3 separate regions of the Homo sapiens genome follow, and all the other regions are linked to region 2. Evidence: promoter capture Hi-C in 16 types of primary human blood cells and fetal thymus (Javierre and others, 2016). All regions are on one chromosome and are shown on one strand. The core of a region is centred on a gene start or on the middle of the fragment in contact, and the rest is flanking DNA. Distances in the headings are between cores, read along the strand shown. Region 1 overlaps CDK15 (cyclin dependent kinase 15). Region 2 holds the start of KIAA2012. Region 3 overlaps CDK15 (cyclin dependent kinase 15).

Evidence for each region. Contacts are between HindIII fragments. The CHiCAGO score rates a contact against its expected background, and 5 or more counts as called.
Region 1: a contact is called between a fragment that was not itself captured here and the fragment with the promoter of KIAA2012 in region 2, in 1 of 17 cell types (endothelial precursors). The highest score is 7.0, in endothelial precursors.
Region 3: a contact is called between a fragment that was not itself captured here and the fragment with the promoter of KIAA2012 in region 2, in 2 of 17 cell types (M2 macrophages and M0 macrophages). The highest score is 5.2, in M2 macrophages.

What each region holds. Positions count from the first base shown.
Region 1 is chr2:201,827,547-201,831,572 of GRCh38, forward strand. The region is part of intron 6 of CDK15 (cyclin dependent kinase 15); the gene reads left to right. Among named protein-coding and RNA genes, the nearest start is that of CDK15, 23 kb to the left of the region's middle. The HindIII fragment of the contact is 2,341 bases long and covers 1,592-3,932 here.
Region 2 is chr2:202,071,212-202,075,117 of GRCh38, forward strand. It overlaps KIAA2012, which reads left to right and starts at 2,044. Exons shown (of 24, transcript NM_001277372.4): 1 at 2,044-2,500; 2 at 3,680-3,906. The coding sequence starts at 2,417. The HindIII fragment of the contact is 5,257 bases long and covers 1-3,906 here.
Region 3 is chr2:201,850,592-201,854,611 of GRCh38, forward strand. All of the region lies in intron 9 of CDK15 (cyclin dependent kinase 15), which reads left to right. Among named protein-coding and RNA genes, the nearest start is that of CDK15, 46 kb to the left of the region's middle. The HindIII fragment of the contact is 528 bases long and covers 2,265-2,792 here.

The DNA.
Region 1 (4,026 bases), core at 1,512-4,011, 240 kb before region 2:
CTGTGGTCTGTAGGATATATGAAAGGAAATAAGAGACTAGAGTCAGGGATTCCACTTAAGTGTTTGTTTGTTTGTTTTGAGACAGAGTCTCTTTTTGTTACCCAGGCTAGAGTGCAATGGTGCAGTCATGGCTCACCGCAGCCTCAAACTCCCAGCCTCAAATTATCTTCCCAGCTCGGCCTCCCAAAGTGCTGGAATTACAGGTGTGAGCCAAAGGGTTTATTGATGTGGTCTGGCCTAGTGCCTCTCAAACTTCAGTGAGCAGACAAGTGACCGGGAACCTGACTCAACAAGTCTGGGTTTAAGCCTGAGCCTCTGCATTCTAACATGAGTCAAGCTGATGCAGATGGTGCTGGTCAAGAGCCAAGCACTGAGCAGCAAGGATCTAGTTAGCAATTAGTAATCAAGGTTGATATTATGGTAGTGACAATAAGAATGGAGAGGAATGTGAAAATCAGTAACAAAGAAGAGTTCACCTCTTGGTAATGTGAGCATGAGGAGGAAAAGGATGGGGCCAAACATAACTGGTTTTGTGTTTGACTGACGAGGAGAATTGTAGCTCTATTAACAGAAATAGGAGAAGAAGTTGGTTTGGAGAGAAAGAGGAGTCCTGTTTCAGACGTGTTGAGGTCCCAGGTGAGACAGGATCTCCAAAGGGAAATGAGCAGTAGGCAACCTAAAAGGAAATCTGTGCTCAGAAGGGAGCTGTGAGCTCGACGTGTAGATCTGAGGGTCATCAGCACATAGAGTTTAGAAGACAAGGAGTAGGCAACCAAAAGAGCAAATACACAAAGAGAGGAGGACTGATGATGAGACTTTTGCCTTTTAGGATGAGAAGAGGAACAGGAAATGAAGGAATGAAGGGAAGCAGCTTGTAGGAATGTAGAGCATCTGAAAAAAAAATACACACTGTCATGGAAGTCAAGGGAAGAAGAATTTCAAGAAGGAGGGTATGGTGGACAGTATTACAAGCATCAGGAATACAGCTAAAAGTCATACTCTTGATGCATTGACCTTGTGGATTTGTGAGGGACACACTAATAAATAAAGGAATTTATTGTGGGTATATGGAGGCACAAAGGAAGAGGTTATCCAAATCAAAGCAGGTGGGAGTAGGGATGAGTTCTCCAAGGTGGAGGCATCAGTGAATGTGGGAAGGGGCACAGAGCATCCATGCCCATCCCAGGCAAGCCACCCTCCAGAAGCCTCCATGAGAGTTCAGCTATCCAGAAGGTCTCTGTACCCTAATCTTTCTGGGTTTTGCATAGGCTTCATTGTGTAGGCATGATTTATTAAACTATTGGCCACTGGTGATCAACTTAACCTTCAACCCCTCTCCCCTCCCTAATCATGCCTTGGTCTTTCCAGTGACCAGTCCCTATCCTAAGCTACCCAATGGTCTGCCAGCTATCAGTCAACTCTACAAAAAGACATCACTTTGGAGATTCTAAGGATTTTAGGAGTTGGCTGTCAGGAATTTAGTTGAAGATCAAATATATATTTCACAATATCACAGTCGTGCTATTTTATATCAGGCGCCATTAAATGGTTTTAAACAAAGAGGTGATAAATTCAGATTTTCTTTTTATAAAGCTTACACTGATGACAGTGTGGTGAATAGATTGGGATGAGGGCAATACTTTTTTTTTGAAATGTTATATTCCCCTGACCCTACTTTCTCCTTGTTTTCTTCTACCTCTCTCCCCCTACTCACACAGAAAACTTCTCTCCCTCTACTCATTCCCTGAATGCTGGTGTCTGTTAAGGTTCCAGCCTTGACAGTGAGGCTAATCAGAACCACAGTGGTACAGATGTGAGATGATGGTGGGAGAAAGTGGACAGATATGAGACCAATTACTTAGCCGGAACTGACGGGAAAAACAAGAGTCAGCGATATTTTTTTCTGGATCTGAGTATTAAAATGGATGATGGTGCCATTCACTGTGATAGAGAATCAGAAAGAAAAATTTATTTTGGAGAGATACCATGAATTGTGTTTTAGACATGCTAAGTTTGAGGTGATTATGGGATGTACAGGCGAGCTCCAGACTGTGTGGGCCTAAAGTAGAAAGGCAATCTGAGTTGGAGATAAAGATTTTGAAATCATCAGAATACGGTTGTTCATTAGAGCACTGTCAGTGGGTAAGATAGCTAAGGGAGCATGTGTAGAGTGATAACAGAAGATCAAAGACGGAACCCTAAGAATAACAATAAGTTATTATTTATTATTTTATTATGTTTTATTTTTTAATTTTATTTTTATTTATTTATTTATTTTTAGATGGGAGTCTCGCTCTGCTGCCCAGGCTGGAGTGCAGTGGCGCAAACTCAGCTCACTGCAACCTCCGCTTCCTGGGTTCAAGGGAGCCTCCTGCCTCAGCCTCTCAAGTAGCTGGGACTACAGGCACCCACCACCTCACCTGACTAATTTTTGTATTTTTAGTAGAGACGGGGTTTCACCATGTTGGCCAGGCTGGTCTTGAACTTCTGACCTTGAGTGATTCACCTGCCTTGGCCTTCCAAAGTGCTGGGATTACAGGTATGAGCCACTGTGCCTGGCCTATTTTTGTTTTTTATAGAGATGGGGTCTTGCTATGTTGCCCAGGCTGGTCTCGAACTCCTGGACTCAAGCAATCCTCCTGCCTTGGCCTCCCAAAGTTCTGGGATTACACGTGTGAGTCCCTGCGCCTGGCCAGAATATCAATATATTAGATTTTAGTAGAAGTAGAACCTATAAAAAGAACAGCCAGAGGGGCAGAAGAAAAATTAGGAGATTGTGGAACCAAAAGAAGAGAGTGCCTCAGGAAGGAAGGCATGGTCTATGATGCCAAATGCTGCAAAGATAAGGAATAAGAAGTATCCATTGGATTTCATAGGAAAAGTCATGGGAAACCATGGTAAAAAAACATTGTGAATGACACAATCGTTGCAAAAGCATTTTTATAGGGGGATGAATTTTGTATTTCAGAGGACAAACAGTTCCATACAATGGCAAGATCTAGTGTGTGACCACGGGAGTTAGTGTCTGAAGTGGATTGGAGAAGCAGATCATTGGAGCTGAGGTTGGCTAGAGCTGTTCTCATGGGCACTAATGTCATGGAGTCAACAGCTGTGATCCAAGTGCCCACATCTTCAGTGAATGACAGAGAGGGATTGAGAGTTCAGTGAATGACCGCTAAAAGAAGAGTAATGGAAGATGTGGCTGGATGGCATTAAAATCCAAGGGACAGGGGTTTTTACTTAAAAGTAGAGAAGTAATGGTTTTGAAGTGGTAGTGGGGAAAAGGGAGGCAGCTTATGACACTTGTCAGTGGTCAAAGGTATGAGGAAGTTATAGAAAAACTAACATCCACTTGAGAATATTATAGGGAAGCAGTGAGCTCAAGGTCTCATTTAAGGAAAGGAGCCAAAAGGAAATTCACCAGAGGTTAGCTTTTAGGTAGTTTTTAAAGCAGGATTGAAGAATGGAGACTAAACAGTGAAAATGTTTGGGAGAGAGAGGAGCAATAGATATGAAGCTAAACAGAGGAAGCACAGAACAGAATGGAGATGAGTATGTTGGGAGGAAAAGGAATAGTCAGAGGCTTATATTTTGAGTTGTGACCAAGGAAGACAGGGTGGGAATCCTCGTGAGGTTATCTTGTTTCAGATTTCTAGTAGAATGAGTCCCAGGGATTCCAGGGGGGATGGAAGGACTCAGGCTTCCCTATAAGGAGTTGGCTAACGGATCTCATTGGTTTTTGAGTAACTCCTGGCCCAGATGGCACTAGTTCAATGGAATTATTTTGTTCCCCCAAAACTTATTGAGTTGGAAACAGGTCTAACTCCTGGGATCTGGGAAGCCTTTCTGGAAAGAGTCACCCACGATCTGGCTGATGTTGAACTGTGCAGACACCATCATATTTGGTTATGTTAGGATGCAATAATTGGTGAAGCTTCTGTAGTGTTGAATGAAGAATCCAGGTTGGAAGGGATGAAAGGGTGAGTGGGTGATGAGGTTTGTCAGCACAGACTGCAATTTTGAGAA
Region 2 (3,906 bases), core at 794-3,293:
ACATTCATATTGTTGTGAATCCACCTTCAGAACTTTTTCATCTTCTCATACTGAAACTCTGTACCCACTATACACTGATGTTCCATTCCCCTCTCCCTGACAGCCCCTGTCAATTACCATTCAACTTTCTGTCTCTGTGAATCAGACCACTCTAAGTACTTCACATAAGAGAAATCATACAATGTTTGTTCTTTCATGATTGGCTTATCTTGTTTAGTGTAATGTCTTCAAGGTACATGCGTGTTGTAGCATATGTCTGAATTTCCTTCCTTTTTTTTTTTTTTTTTTTTTTTTGAGATGGAGTCTCACTCTGTTGCCCAGGCTGGAGTACAGTGGCATGATCTCGGCTCACTGCAACCTCCGCTTCCCAGGTTGAAGCGGTTCTCCTGCCTCAGCCTCCCAAGTAGCTGGGACTACAGGCGTGTGCCACCACACCTGGCTAAATTTTTATTTTTAGTACAGACGGGGTTTCATCAAGTTGGCCAGGCTGGTTTCGAACTCCTGACCTCAGGTGATCCGCCCACCTCGGCCTCCCAAAGTGCTGGGATTACAGGCATGAGCCATGGTGACCAACTGAATTTCCTTCCTTCTTAAGGCTGAATAATACTGCATTGTATGCATATGCTACATTTTGTTGATTCATTCATCTGTCGATGGACACTTGAGTTACTTCCACCTTTTGGCTCTTATAAACAGTTTTGCTCTGCATATGAGTATACAAATATCTCTTTGAGACCCTGCTTTCACCTCCTTTAGGTATACAGACCCAGAAGTGGAATTACTGGTGATACGGTAATTCTGTTTAATTTTCTTAGAAACTGTCATACCATTTCCTACAGAGGCTGCGCCATTTTGCATTTCCAACAGCAATGCACAAGGTTTTCAATTTCTCCGTATCTTCACCAAATACTTGTTATTTTCTGTTTTTGTTTTTGTTTTTTAATAATAGCCATCTTAGTAGGTGTGAAGTGGTATCTCATTGTGGTTTTGATTAAATTCTGTTTGGAGCCTCTGCATTCACTCATTCGCTGTCTTGATTCCCCCTAATAAACCCTATTTTATTTTACAACAGAACCTCTATTTCTTTCTCAGGAGACTTGAACTTGGTTGGGGGTGGAGGGGTCAGAGGGGGAGGGGAAAGTGCCACATAGGAAGATCAAAAAGGTAAGTGGGCTTGTAGCCTGTTGTGCTTCTTCATATAGGCCAGCAGTGGGCACTCCCACAAGACTGCCAGGGTAGTTCAGCTGACAGCTAACAGGCAGCTTGCTTTTCCAGGCTTGAGCAGGTTCCTAGATCCCCAGCAAAGGGGTCTTTTTGTTTCCTGACCCTCTTCCCTCCTGTCTGTGCTCGTCACAATGTCACTGTTAAAGAGACCCAAGCATCCCAGGCTACACAGTGCTTCTCAAAGCAGGTGCTCCTGGCATTCTAGTGGGACAGTTCATCACTATGTGGGAATTTCACACCATGTAGAACATTTAGCATCTGGGGCCTCTGCTTGATCAATGCCAGCAAGACCCCCAATCATTGCAACAACCAAAATGTCCCCCACCCACATTTCCAGAGCACCCCCATCAGGGGATAGCTTGCCCAGTTGAGAACCAGGTATGCAAAGGAAGCTAGAGAATCCCAGTGTCTCCCGCTCAGGCAAAGCAGCAACTACCATAATGAGGTCTCGTGTCCAGTTGAGGGGATGATGGAGCTCAGCCAAGGAAAAAGTCACAGGTGGTTTTAGGTGACCTAGATTACACCCTGGCTCTGTTAATGGTTAGTTGACAGTGACAGGCTCACATATCAGGAGAGAGGGGAAGACGCTCTCTAAAAACAAGATGAGAACAATAACAGAAAAAGTACCCCAACAAGTCCCCCACCCCATGCAACTGGGACTTGCAACCTGAGCCTGGTCCCTTCAGTGTCCATTTGACCCCCACCCCCATCCCCGGGGAATGCACACTGCACCCGGCACCCGTCTCTGCCTTGCCTGGGTTAGTTTAAGGGACTTCATTTCCCTGTGCTGCCATAGCAACCAGGAAACAACCTCCGCTCAGACAAGAAGGATGGTGCTGTGGCCGAGATCTGTAGATGCACACGGCTGGTAACAGAGCAACCGGGACCAAGGGACAACAAGAGCTCAGGAGAAGGGGAGAGACAGGTCGCCCAGAGAGTAGACAATCCAGGGCTTGAGGAGGCTGGCTGTGCGGTTTATTTTTTCTCTCCACAAAGACACACACTGTCTAAACTGTGTGGCTGGTTGTTACTAAGAAGCTGCTGCGAGAGGGAAAAATGTATTTAATAAAAGGCCCTGTGTTTGTGGTCTTCTTGGGCTTGCTGTGAGCTCTGGAAATCTTGAGGTGTGACCAGATTTCAGCCTTCAAAACCAAGATGGACTGCCCTTGAGAAGGGGTGGTCAGAGGGAAACATGTTCACGCTCTCCCTCCTGAGCCGGGGCCACGGGAAGCTGGGCCAGGACAAACAGAAGTTAGAAGTCTACTTTGAACCAGAGGTGAGTCCCACAGCTGAAGAAAGGCACATTTTGGAGGTGGGAGAGGAATGCTCTATGTTTCCACTTGGGAGGTAAACCATGTGTGTCTTGGTTTGTGTTGTTAGTGAGGTGGCGGGGTCACTGGAAGATCTTCCTTCCTCCTTCATGAAACTCAAGAAAATAACATCATTTTCCTGACACACCGAGATTGCCCCTGAGGCCCTCATCTTTCCCCTTGTAGCTGTCTTTGCTTGGACCAAAGGAGATTCCAGATTGTCTGGAATTTGGATGGTTTGGTGCAAGACCAGAATTTCCACCTGGGTTCTAGGCAAACTGATGGTTGTTTGGTTTTTGGAAGTCGTGCTCTGCAGTTGAAATGCTGTGTGTGTTCATGCCATTTCAATGGCTTCCTTGAACTTTCTGGAATTCAACCCACAGGACTCATATTTAATATAGGCCAAAAAAAAACCCACCTCATTTTAGAAGATTTTAAAGAGGTGGCAAAATTCCCTTGTTATACTAGATTTTTATTTCACTTGAATCCTGCCAGGGATAAGAAACCTATTGGGGATACTTTGCAAATTTGGGGGTCATACAGAGATTTCCATTGTCATGGTACTTTGTCATGATATTTGACCTTTGCTGTGTTAAACGGCATATAAAGTTTCAAAGGACCTGTATGGCCAATGGCATTTTCTTACCTACAAGATATGTAACTGCTTTATAGGCCCCTAAATAGCCAAATTAGGTAATGTTACATAGCATCTGGAATGTATAGAAATTCTCCCCACGTACAGCTGAAGTGGTGGTGGCTTGGAATGCTCCTATTTAAACTGCCAGCTAGTCCAGGTCTAATTTCAAAGTTATCTGCTGCCCTTAATAATTCTGACCACTTACTTGCATACCAGGAAACTTTAACTGGCCTGTAACCTACATACAAGCTGAGTTAATCCTCCAGCCATACATGACTCTCCTGAAAGTTGTATGGGGTGAAATAGAACCATGCCCTGGGTTCTACTAATTTTGAAATGTGGAGAGAAAAGGCAGTTGCTAAGAAGAGCAATTGTGTTCCATAACACCATGTGAACAGTTCAGAGAAAATCAGTAACTAAAAAAATGCCGAAGGCTTTGCACAAGCAGTATTTGCTATAGAAAGGTCTTCCACAGTGGCTCCGTCAAAGTGGCTGCTTCTCATTGCAGGATTACTTGAACTGGAGGTCCCCAGAAGACTATGTTCCTGTCAGCAAACCTCAAGATAAGAACAATGCCAGTCAGCACTCCTGGAGCCTCTTTCTCCCTAAAACTTTCAGTACTAGAAAGGGTGCCCTGATCCTGTACTCAGAAGGTTTTGCCATTTCGGCATGGACACCCAAAGAGAGGAGAAAAGGCCCCTACTGCCCCAGAGGTCCCTGGAGGAAGCTGGATCT
Region 3 (4,020 bases), core at 1,279-3,778, 220 kb before region 2:
CTGCATTCAATGAACATGGGACTGTAGATAACAAACTAACTTCATTTCTTTGGGTACATGCCCTGTATTGGGATTGCTGGATCATATGGTAGTTCCATTTTTAATATTTTGAGGAACCTCCATACCATCTTCCATAATGGCTGTGCTATTTGCATGCCCACCATCAGTGTGCAAATGCTCCCTTTCCTCCACATTCTTGCCAACACCTCTTTCATCTTTTTGATAATAGTTATGAGGCAATATCTCACCATGGTCCTAGACTTCATTTGTCTGATGACTAATGATATTGAGCATTTTTTCATATATCTCTTGGCCATTTGTAGGTCATCTTTTGAGAAATGTGTATTGAGGTTCTTAGTCCATTCCTGCTACCATAACAAAATCCCTTAGAGTGGGCATTTTATAAAGAACAGAAATTGGCCGGGCGCAGTGGCTCATGCCTGTAATCCCAGCACTTTGGGAGGCCAAGGTGGGTGGATCACCTGAGGTCAGGAGTTCAAGACCAGCCTGGTCAATATGGTGAAACCCCATCTCTACTAAAAATACAAAAACTAGCCGAACGTGGTGGTGTGCACCTGTAGTCCCAGCTACTTGGGAGGCTGAGACAGGAGAATTGCTTGAACCCAGGAGGAGGAGGTTGCAGTGAGACGAGATCGTGCCACTGCACTCCAGCCTGAGCAACAGAGTGAGACTTCATCTCAAAAAAAAAAAAAAAAAAAAAAAAAAGAACAGAAATTTATTTCTCACTGTTCTAGAGGCTGGAAAGTCCAAGATCAAGGCACTGTAGGCTGTTGTCCAGTGAGAGATTTGGTCTCCAAGTTAGTGCCTTGTCGCTGCATCCTCCAGAGAGGGCAAATGCTGTGTCCTTACATGGTGGAAGGGTAGAAGAGCAAACGGGCCTGACTGATTCCCTCTAGCTCCTTTATAAGGGCATTCATCTCTGTCCTTGTGTCCTAATCACACGCTAAAGGTGGCTAAAGGCCCCACCTCTTAATACTGTTGCATTGGGGATAAAGTTTCAACATGAATTATGAAGAGAATACAAACATTTAAACCACAACAAGTCCTTTGCCCACTTTTTTTTTGGAGACCGAGTCTCACTCTGTTGCCCAGGCTGGAATGCAGTGGCTTGATCCTGGCTCATTGCAACCTCCACCTCCTGGGTTCAAGCAATTCTCCTGCCTCAGCTTCCCAAGTAGCTGGGATTACAGGTGTGCACTACCACACCCAGCTAATTTTGTATATTTAGTAGAGACAGGGTTTTACCATGTTAGCCAGGCTGATCTCGAACTCTCGACTTCTGGTGATCCACCTGCCTCAGCCTCCCAAAGTGCTGAGATTACAGGCGTGAGCCACCGTGCCCGGCCCTTTGCCCACTGTTTAATGGGGTTGTCTTCTTGCTATTGAGTTCCTTATATATTTTTGATATTAACCCCTTATCAAATGTATGGCTTGCAAATATTTTCTCCCATCGTAGGTTGTCTCTTCACTCTAATGATTGTTTCCTTTGCTCTGAAGACACTTTTTAGTTTTATTTATTCCCATTTGTCTATTTTCACATTTGTTGCCTATAAGCAGGTTAGAAAATTATACAGATTATAAATAGTTCCTGAATTTGTGTTTTACTAAACGTAGCCTACACAGATGAAAACAGGAAAGCTACACTTCAGAATCTGTGATATTTGATGTCAGAAGTGCATCCCTGAAAGCAATGGGTCCATTCTAAATCTCCTAACCTCTAACCATAATTTGTTCTATATTTATCCTGAGATCTCACTCTTAGGAATAAAAACACATTGAGAAGTCCTGAGTCTCTATTTTACTATTTTTCTGAAGTGCCTGTAGTGTGTGTGTTTACATCTAAATAATAGCTGTCACCACTTTCTGATCAATTTTAAAAACTAATTTTAAATAAGTGTTTTTCATAAATAATCCTGGATTTAGTTCTAAAATCAGAATAAACTATGCAAACTTTGAATCCATTAATCAAAATGCTTTTAGTTTCCATTCCAACAAAGGCAGATAAACAGCCCCTTCAGACCACTGTGGTTTGAAACATAGCACTCACTGGCTGCCTTTTAAGAGCCTTCAGGGAGGGAGCAAAACAACAATTTTTGGTTTTCAGTTTCCCAGACAGTGAAGGAGAGATTTAGTAATTTTCTCAAGTGAAAAAGAATTCAATAACTTGCAAATAGAAACTGAGATCAAATTTCCAAATAAAGTATATTGAATTTTTGTTTAAACTTTTAAAATCTCAAGCTTAAAGCTTTGAACATAAGATTAAAAAAACTTTTTTTAGTATCCATTTTGTTGGCTTTAGTTAAATATCATACAAAGTAACCAACCATCTGGTAACTTTCACCTTAGAGAAAACATGATAGTGGTTGTCACCTATTTCTTCTATTGTTTTCTCTTCATTATCTTTGCTTTCTTTTCACTGCACTTTGCCAGCCAACAGAGGATGTATGGGTACATGTGACTCACACCCACTTGTTTACACATGCATCTGTGCAAATACATAAGATGGTAGGTTAAAAAAAGAAGAATTAGTTTCTTGTCCCCTGGCCTTCTCCCACAAAAGAAGAATTAGTCCAGTTGGTTTTTCAAAATGGATTCCAGGATTCTTAGTGTTCCCTCGGGCTCAGGGTGGTTGATAGGAAAAGCCTATAATCCTCTCAGTCACTTTTCAGTTTGTTTAGGGAATGGATCAAAGAAGGAAGATTTTACTGGGTGGCATGATTTTTTTATTATATGAGGGAAAATAGCACTTCACTGTCTTTTGTTTAAAGACAAGCTTAACAGATGCTAAAAAGTACATCTCTCAGCCAGATTCCTAGTCAACAAGCTGATAGACACTAAGATTCTGGATTCTTCATTGATTATATTCAGTCATTGTTGGGCAATTGACTCCCTGCCATAATAATTGGGCCAGTATCTATAACCAGCATTTTACAGATGGATTCGCTAGACTCTTTCTGTAAGAGATGTTTCTAAAAAGAGTTATAGTGAGATATGCTTCTAAGAAAAGTTATACTGTAGTAGTGTAATGAAAGCTACTAGTGTTTTATTAGTATTTCACAAGAACAATGTTACTCTGTCTCCCATATATAACTGTCTATGGGCTTTTATGATTATTCTTTAAAAAAAAAAAAATACTAAGGTAATGCCTACCGGGGAACTCATGGTGCTGGCTTCATCCAAAGTCTGAGCTGTTTTGGCTTTATACTCCGAAAGACTTTATTTTCATACATCTTAACTAAAAACTGGGGCTTTAAATTGGTCATTCAAGGCCAGGCGCGGTTGCTCATGCCTGAAATCCCAGCACTTTGGGAGGCCGAGGTGGGCAGATCACGAGGTCAGGAGATTGAGACCATCCTGGCCAACACGGTGAAACCCCGTCTCTACTAAAAATACAACAACAACAACAACAAAAATAGCCAGGCGTGGTGGCTTGCATCTGTAATCCCAGCTACTCAGGAGGCTGAGGCAGGAGAATGGTGTGAACCTGGGAGGCAGAGCTTGCAGTGAGCCGAGATCGCATCACTGCACTCCAGCCTGGGCGACAGAGCGAGACTCCGTCTCAAAAAAAAAAAACATCGGTAATTCAAAGCATAGACCAGCCCTTTTTCAAGTGATGTTGTTCCCATGACAATCCATCAGTGAAAAACCAAATACCATATTCCAAGCTGCTAGTCACAGAGAAAACAAGCAGATGAGATGAATGTAATAGAAAAGACTAGAGTTAGTTTTGGGGTCATCTTTAGCCAACATTCCATTGCCTGAAGCTCAGTAATCTGAATCCTTTTTAATTTGAGCACATCAGGGAACAGCTGAATACCCATGCTGAGGCATAATTTAAGCTGTCAAGTGTCTCCTGTCAATATACATGTGGTCATCTGATGCAAGGCAAAGAGACAGTCACTCCTGCTTCTTTATATCCCTAGCTCCCAACATGGTGTCCTAATGCATGATAATCATGCAGTAAATGTTCAGTGATGAGAACATGACTTTGAGCAAGGC